Regions from separate parts of the Homo sapiens genome. Here region 2 is linked to region 1. The links are contacts of gene promoters, found by promoter capture Hi-C in human tissues and cell types (Jung and others, 2019). All regions are on one chromosome and are shown on one strand. Each heading gives the region's core, a stretch centred on a gene start or on the middle of the fragment in contact. The rest is flanking DNA. Distances are from core to core; before and after follow the strand shown. Region 1 holds the start of NADK (NAD kinase). Region 2 holds the start of LOC124903824 (a long non-coding RNA gene).

Region 1 (4,013 bases), core at 593-3,092:
CTGAGCGTGGTGGTGGGCGCCTGTAATCCCAGCTACTCAGGAGGCTGAGGCAGGAAAATCACTTGAACCCGGGAGGTGGAGGTTGCAGTGAGCCGAGATTGTGCCACTGCACTCCAGCCTGGGCAACAGAGCTAGACTCTGTCTTAAAAAAAAAAAAAAAAAAAAAAGACTGGTCAAAGTGGCTTACGTCTGTAAGATCAGCACTTTGGGAAGTGGAGGCAGGAGGATCTCTTGAGGCCAGGAGGTTGAGACTAGCCTGGACAACACAGTGAGACTCTATCTCTACAAAAAATTTTATAAATCAGCTAGGTGTGGTGGTGCAGGCCTGTAATCCCAGCTACTCAGGAGGCTGAGGTGGGAGGATCAATTGAGCCCAGGAATTTGAGGTTACAGTGAGCTATAATCATGCCACCATAAACACGCCTGGAGGACAGAGTGAGGCCCTGTTTCTAACATACACACACATATACACACAGAAACATCTCGAGAGGACACCTCCAAATGATGAAGCTATTTTGTTGGGTACTGCGGTGGCACCTGTGATTCCTCAAGTAGCTTGGAATCAGCGTGCTAACACCATAAAGTGGCTGCAAAAGTCCCAGTGAAGTCACTGCTGAGAGCAAACAGGCCTTACAGAGAAGTTCCAAGGGGACAGGAAATTTCCAGAGGCTTGAGAGGACAATGTTCAGGGGAATAAGTACTTGAAGGGAATTATCTAACAAGGTGTTAAAGTAACTAGCTTCTTAGACAAGATGACATCAGGAGGAAAAAAAAACTTATTAAGGCAAACATGTCAGTTTCAGGCCAACTAAGGCTGTCAGAGAGACATGGAACACAAGAAGAGAAGAGTTTTGAAATGTATTCCCATCAAGAGCCAAGAATAATGAACTTTTGAATGTAAAACTTAGTGTGTTCCAAAACAAGAAAGGAAAAATAACTTGTTACTCGGAATCGAAGCCAAAAGGAATCTCATTGCTTGGGGAGGAGGGATGGGAGGGTGGGGGTGGTCCTTGGCCTGGGAAGGAAAACTCCACCAGGCCTTCGGAGCTGGGCACGCCCTGTTCCCACAATTAAGAAAAAAAACGACGACCTAGAGCTCAAGGCCGGTGCTGACATCTGACCTACTGGATGGCAGCCGCCTGTAGGAACATCACCATAGACTATTGGAATTTTCTGGCAAGTACTGGGCACTAAATCAGAGATGTGTTTTTAGAGAATTCCATGCCAATACTGCTGTATAGAATCTTTTATTCATACTTTCCCACTAGGTTTGGGCCCCTCTAAGCTTTCACGAGTCAAAGACCCCTCCTGCTTGCTGAAACCACCCACGGAAGGCCGGACACCGAGGACCTGGCCGCCCAAGCAGAGGCGACTGACAAGCGCGGTCCGGGCTGGACGGCCCCACCTTCCCCGCCCGGGAGAGCCAGGCCGGACAGCGGCCTCCCTCAGACCCGTCCCCAAGGCCGAGCCTCGCCCTGGGCCGTGCTGGTGCCCCATTCGGGACGGAGCGGTGGCCCGTCAGCACTTCCACGGCCTCCTCAGCAGGCCAGATGGGCAGGGCCGGCCTGGTGTCTCCCCGCCTGGCCGCGCGCTCGCGGGCAGCGATGACCCCAGGCAGCGGGCGACCCCAGGCGGACGGCAGGCCGGGTCTGCTCACTCACCGTTCGCTGCCGCGGGCGCCTGCGGGGGCGTCTACATGCCGGACCGAGCCCGCAGGCCCCGCCGCCGCGCCGCCGCCAGCCGTCGCTACCTGGCCCTTGGCGCCCTGGCCGCCTGTTGCCCCATGGCCGCCCGGACCCCGGCGCCGGCGCCGCCGAGCAGCAATGCGCCGCGCCCGCCCACTGCGCAGGCGCACCCGCCACGCATGCGCGCTGCCGCGCACGTGGGGCGTCCCGCGCGTCTGCCGGGTCCCACCGGCGCCGGGACACCCCGCGCGGGCGGGAGGCGGCGGGCGTGGCGGGAAAGAGGCGGGCGGTGGGGAAGAGGGGCGAATCGCGGTGGAGAGCAGTGACCAGGGAGTGGAGGCGGGCAGCGGGGACAGGGGCGGGCGTCCGCGACTCGGGTAGGCGGGGGTCGGCGCCCCGAGGAGGGCGGCCCCCGGCTCCCGTCCCCACTCACCTGCCGCGTCCGGAGGGCGCCCCCGGGTCCGCCCGCCACGTCTACGCCTAGGCGCCCCCGACATTGTGATCCCAGCCCGGCGTCCCGCCCCCAACTCACCGCCACCGCGGGCGGGACCTCCCGGACCACGTGGGCCGGCTCAGGGGAGTGCAGGTGCCCCGCGAGAGCTGGCCCCGCCCGCCGCCGCTTCCCTAATTACCGGGCTGTGACACGGTGTGGGCCGAGCCGGATTTGGGAACCGAAACTTAGAGCAGCTGCGGCAGCGCTGCGCTCCCTCGGGGCTGTCCGTCGGGGCTGGGAGGGCGGCCCTGCGCCTGGGGGAACCGCGATCGGCCTCACGCCCACCTCTAGCGGCCAGGTGCGCCTTGCACGCCCACGAACGTCCTCAGAGGTCTACGCTTGGGATCCCAAGGCTGGCAGTGGAGGGAGGACCCGGTGGCCTGGGGCACCTCTAGGGGGACCAGGGAGCCGTGTTTTGCGCACCCCACAGGCTGGAGGACTCGGGGAGTTGGGGGAGGAGGCCAAAGCCACAGGAGCGGACTTTGTAGTGTTTGTTGGAACTGCGGGTCCCACCCAGCCCGCACTTGCTGAACTGGTGGCTGCTCATCAGCGCCTTCAGGCCTCAAATATCCCAATAATGTGCCCTATACCCAGTTCTCAGCTCTCGAGTCACTGTCAGGTAAACTGGCAATGCACGACCAGCTGCTCTAACCTGCTGGTCCCCCAGGTGCCAGACATTGTTTTGTTTTTCTGAGATAGTGTCTCATTCGTCCCCCAGGCCGGAGTCCAGTGGCGGGCTCACGGCTCACTGCAGCCTTGACCTCTCAGGTGCAAGCGATCCTTCCACTTCAGCTTCCCTAGTAGTTGGGACTACAAGTAGGTCCCGCCACACTCGACTACTTCATTCATATATATATATATTTGTGTGTGTGTGTGTGTGTGTGTGTAGAGATGAGGTTTTACCATTTTGCCCAGGCTGGGTCTCAAACTTCACCCGCCTCGGCCTCCCAAAGTACTAGGATTATAGGCGTAAGCCACTGCACCTGGCCCAGCCATTGTTTTCTGAGGTTCAGTCCCTGTCTATACTTTCTGTGTGATCACCTGGCCCAGGGTCGGTGTGGACCTGAGTCCTCTGCAGCCCTTCCCCACACCCGCATACCTGCTCTCTGGTCAGGACTCCTGGGACTTGAATCCAGAGACACGGAACACGGCCTGGCCAAGTCTTCCTGAAAAACACAGCTCTTCAGTTCAGGACCACAGTGAAGTACAGGGCACCAAGGGTGACTGGAAAGGGAAGCAAGGATCATGAGAACTTGGGGGATTTCTTAAGCTCTGTAACTTCTCCCGGGGTTATTTTGCAAACCCAACTGTTTCAAAGTGACCACCAGCCACACCCACAGAAGCGGCCTTGAGCTGCCCAGTTCTTTTTCTTTGGCGGGGGGAGAGGGGGCGGATAAGATCATTAACATAATAATGCGTGAGCTGAGTTTTTGCATATGATCATTAGCATAATAATGCTTGATCTAGATGGCGCACCCACAAGCCAGGCACTGAGCCAGGCCTCAGTAGAATCTTCTAGAGTGGAGGCAGTCAACTGCTTCTGCAGAGGCAACCAGTGACTGTCGTGGGCCCCAGGTCACACAGCAGGTGCCCTTCGCGTGTCCCGCTGTGTAGGGAGCTCCAGCAGCTGCCCCGTCTGTGGCATGAAAACCCTTTGTCTACCCTGGGCCTGGGCACTGCCTGCAGGAGAGCTTCCCTGTTTCAGAGATGAGAAAACAAAACCAGGGCTGTGGTTTCCTTCAGCTGACAGGTTGTGCAATTTCTCAGGGCAGGCCCCGGATATGACCTTGAAGATTCAGGGGCCAAGATCTCACACCCACACCTCACCCCAGGCC
Region 2 (4,159 bases), core at 106-2,605, 530 kb after region 1:
CCCTGGGTGTTGGGGGCAGTGGGCAGGGGCGTGGGCCGAGGGGAACATGGGCCACAGCAGGAGTGGGTGTGGACTGGTCCTGGGCACGTGCATGTTCTGGGGGGCAGAGGATGGGCGGCTCCAGAGTGCCGCTGGCAGGACCCTGAGACTGAGTCAGTTGTGAGCACAGAGGACCAGCCCGGGGTCCAGTGCAGTGGGGAGGAGTTGGGGAAGGGCTGGGCCGAGGTCCTGGGTGGGCCTCGAGGACCGTCCCTGTGGCCACATGGGCACTCTGCCTCGGAGCTGAGCACCGCAGGGCTTGATGACGGCCCTCCCGACCCTCCCGGAGACTCAAAGGCACTGCCTCCAGCAGCCACGTGGGGGCAGGGAGGGGCGGTGCTCTGGGCTCAGTTGTTCCCCAAGCTGCCCCAGGCTTCTCTTTGGTGTTTACCTTTGGGTATAAACTTAGAGCTTTAAAGGGCTCTGGCCACCTGCTGAGCTAGGCCAGCCGTCACCCAGGGTCAGAACCCTCTTCCCAAAGCTGTTCCGAAGGGATCCAGGGGTCTCCTGAGTGCTGGGGGAGAGGAGGCCTGGGTGGGAGAAGCTCCCTGCCTCCATGCCAGGGGAGGGCAGAGGTGGGGGGAGAGAGATGGCCCTCCCCACCCTACCTCTGCATCCTCAGGCTCAGGACTCCCAGCATTCACACCTGCCTGGGCCTCTGCAGGGACCACGGGTTAGCCCTCCAGCCTCAGCTCCCTGGAAGGGCAGCTCCCAGTACCCCTGTTCCTGGCAGTGCCTGTTCCCAAGCCCCCAAGAGCTGGGGTCTGGGGAAGATGAGCTCAGGGAAGGGGATGGGGGCTCCCCCACCTCCCTAGTTTCTGCCCCACCCTGTGCCCCACCCATTTCTGCCTCAGTCACCAACAGCTGTCCTTAGGTCTCAGCTGTGCTGGTCTCCCCCTCCTCCTGGAGCCACAGTCCTGCCAGCCTTCACCCACCAGCCTGTGGTCAAGGGGGCCGACAACGGCTGAGCAGCCTGACCTTGTCTGGGGAGGCAGCGGCCAGCACGTCCTAGGTGGGGAGTGGAGACTGCTGACCAGTTACTGCAGCCACTGGTTCAGCCCCGCGTGTCCGGCCCCAGCCCTAAGCCTAAGCAGGGACCCGGCTCCTCCCTCACTTCACCCCCAACCCGCCCTCCTGCCCCAGCGCAGTGCTCCAAGGGCATGGCCAGGGGCCCCCAAGCTGGACACCCCCTCATGGCTGCATGAGGGGCTCTACCCATTGCCCCAGCCCACAGGCCCAGACCCCGACCCCATCCTGGCCCAGGCCTGGCCACCCCCACGTCCCAGCACCTGCTTTGACTCCCCCACTTCCTTCTGGCCAGGAAGAGGCAGCCCCCACCCACTCTGTTCTCGTAGCCTCTGCACAGCTGCTGGTCCTGCTCCAGGCGACCCGGCCTCTGACCCCACGGAGCCTCCGCTGGAAGGAGGTGCGGAGCCCACAGGGACACCCCCAGGCCAGGGCCGCCTGCCCTCCAGAAATGATGGGGTCGTGACCCTGATGTGTTGGCCCCGGGGGGGTCCCGACCCTCCCCACAGAAACTGCCCTGTCTACTCCACCCACAGCGGACCCTGGGGAGGGGGTGAGGACAGAACATTTGGGGACTGGATGCCCGCCCAGCCCTGCCACCCCCCGGTCTCAGTGACGCACATGGCCATCTGTGCCTGGCCTGTGCCAGGTGGGTGGGGGCCTCAATGGCTGGGGCACCCAGCCCTGGAGCAGGTGGCCCCGCTGCGGGTGAGGACCGGCAGGGGCAGCCTGGCCAGCCTGGCTTGTCTTTGCAGTGTCCTGTGCTGGGCCAGGTGTCCAGCCGGGCTGGGAACGGACCTTTCTCTCCCATGGCCGGGCCTGGCAGCTCTTACTGGCAAGAAGTGCAGCCCAGGCTCGGCCTCCATGGCTCCTCCTGCAAAGGAGGCCTGTTCCAGAAACTTCCAGGGACAGGGAACCGTGGGGAGGTGGGGAGGTAGGGGCTGGAGGCAGGGGCTCCCTGGGTCAGCCCAGGCAGCAGTGTCTCCCAGTCTCCTGCCCCTCCCCGCAGCTGTCCCAAGGACACTCTTAGGTATAGGGGTGCCAAGTGCCCAGGCCCCGTGGAGATACAACTGGCTGGCTTGGAAGGGTGGGCTCCTGGCTGCCCAGCTCAGCCCAGAAACCAGGATTGGGTGCCATCCAGATCTAGAACGAGAGACCAGGGGTGTGGAGGGTCGAGGGCCGTCTAGAGGCCTTGGTGGGGGCCGGGCAGGCCACCAGCCCCGAACCCTGGAGGGTCCCGTGTACCCTGGCCAGTGCCAGCTGCTGCCCCCCTGGCCTGGCCCTGCCAGATTCTCCCTGACAGCCCTGTCCCCCTCTCTGCTGTCGGAACCTTCTGGCCCTTCCTGCAAGGTGGGCCTGGCCAGGCTGGGGTCTTGGTGGAGGGCAAGCAGGAACCAGGGACAGACGATGGAGCTCTGCGTGTCCTCCCTCATGGAGATGCCCCCAGCTGGGTGAAATGACCCTGGTCGGTGCTATGCCCAGGTTAGGCCAGGCTACCAGTTGCAGATGGACACCGCCCTGCGCCCTGCTGTGCCCACCCTGGGGCAGGAGCTGGGCAAGGTACTGTGTGCCCTGTGGTCCAGCCCCACTCTGCCCTGCCCCTGGTGGGGCCTGCACCCGAGGGACGTGATGCCCATGCCCCAGCTTCCTGTTTCTAAGGAAAAACAGTCCTAGGAAAAAGGCTGTAGCGTCGGAGGAGCTGCCCTCGCCAGGGCCTGGGGGGATTGTGGGTGGGGAGGCTGTCCCATTCTGTGATCCCAGGGATGCCAGGAGGGCCGTGGCTGGTGTGGCCGGCACTGGGTCAGGTTTAGGCCGGGGTCTCTCGGGTCTCGGTGTTGGCCCCTCCGTGTTTAGAATCCTCCCAGGCCAAACCAAGGCGGCCTCCAGGGTCACTCCTGCACAGGACAGTGGCCGGAACTCCGAAATGACCACCGACCTGCGCTGGCCGCTGAGGGTCCGACAGACCAAGGCTCTGGGCCCCCTACCCCATCCTGCGCCCCGTGCGCGAAGTCTGCGGGGTCACTGCTGCGCAGGACAGAAAACCCGCAGTGGGGCCCCGGCCTGTCCCCGGCCCTGGCGCTGTCCTGGCATCCGGGGAAATCCTGTTTCTGGCTCCAGGCCAGGGCCTGCCCCTCACCCTGGAGAGGCCCCGTCGGAGGCCGGCCTCGCGGGGGAAGGGCGGTGGCGGAGGAACTACCCAGGAATTCCAGCGCCGGCTCCGAAACCTTCCCAATCCCGCTCCTTCGCCCGGGCCGGAAGCCGCGCTGGGGGGGTGGGGAGGGGTGCACGTCCCGGGCCCCGCGCCGCGTCCTCAGGGCCGGGGCGGCCTCCCCGACGCCCGTTCCGTTCCCAGTCCGGGGGCACTGGGGGCCCCGAGTCAGGCGGAGCGCGCCGGGCCCCACTTCCCCACGCGGAGGGGCAGCCCCGCAGCCTCAGGCTCCCCCCCGCAGCCTCAGTTTCCCCCCCGCCCCCGCCGCCTCTTCCGCTACCCCACCCTCCCTGCCGTCCGGGGCGGCGCCCCCCAGATTCGCGGCCAGCGCTGGATTCCGGCGGGGTGGGGCGGGGGCTTCCGGCCCGGGGGCGGCTGGTCCGAGCAGCAGGCCCGGGCTGGGGGGCGGGACGGGAGGCCCTGGGAGCTTCCTGCAGCGTGGGGGCGGCTCCCGAGGTGGGAATTCCGCCCCCGAACCGGCGGGCTACGTGCGGGGGTCTCAGAGGCTGCGGCTCCTCCCGTCGGTGGGCGCGGCCGCCCCCAGAGGCCGCTGCGGGAAGCAGGGCGGCGGCAGGAAGCGCCCCCCCCGTTCCCCCTTCCCCCCCGTACCCCTCTTCCCCCGCTCGTCCCCCCTTCCCCACCCCAGGCCCCGCGGAGGCGGCGCGCGTTTCACGGGTTTCGCCGCCCGCGGCACGGTGGGGGCGGGGGCGGGGGCGGGGGCGGCGGTGCGACCCCCAGCGGTGGAAGCGGGAACTGCAGCTCGGCCGAGCTCGGGGTTGGGGGGTCCCTGCCAACCCTGCCCTCCCGGAAGGTCCCAGCCTGGCGGGTTCGGGTGCTTTTCTCTCTGGGGCGCGGCCTCCCTGTTCTGCTCAGTTGGGGGTCCGT

What was found. Contacts are between HindIII fragments. The study calls those that stand out against the background at their distance.
Region 2: a contact is called between a fragment that was not itself captured here and the fragment with the promoter of NADK in region 1, in 1 of the 25 tissues and cell types used here (dorsolateral prefrontal cortex).

The regions. Positions count from the first base shown.
Region 1 is chr1:1,776,628-1,780,640 of GRCh38, forward strand. It overlaps NADK (NAD kinase), which reads right to left and starts at 1,843. Exons shown (of 12, transcript NM_023018.5): 1 at 1,662-1,843. RefSeq lists a silencer at 1,359-2,558 and enhancers at 3,619-3,788, 3,799-3,858, 3,869-3,938, 3,949-4,013. The HindIII fragment of the contact is 25,831 bases long and covers 1-4,013 here.
Region 2 is chr1:2,311,299-2,315,457 of GRCh38, forward strand. LOC124903824 (a long non-coding RNA gene) reads left to right here and starts at 3,697. Exons shown (of 4, transcript XR_007065362.1): 1 at 3,697-3,730. RefSeq lists enhancers at 1,876-2,529, 4,010-4,159 and silencers at 3,329-3,448, 3,539-3,698, 3,849-4,138. The HindIII fragment of the contact is 5,543 bases long and covers 1-4,127 here.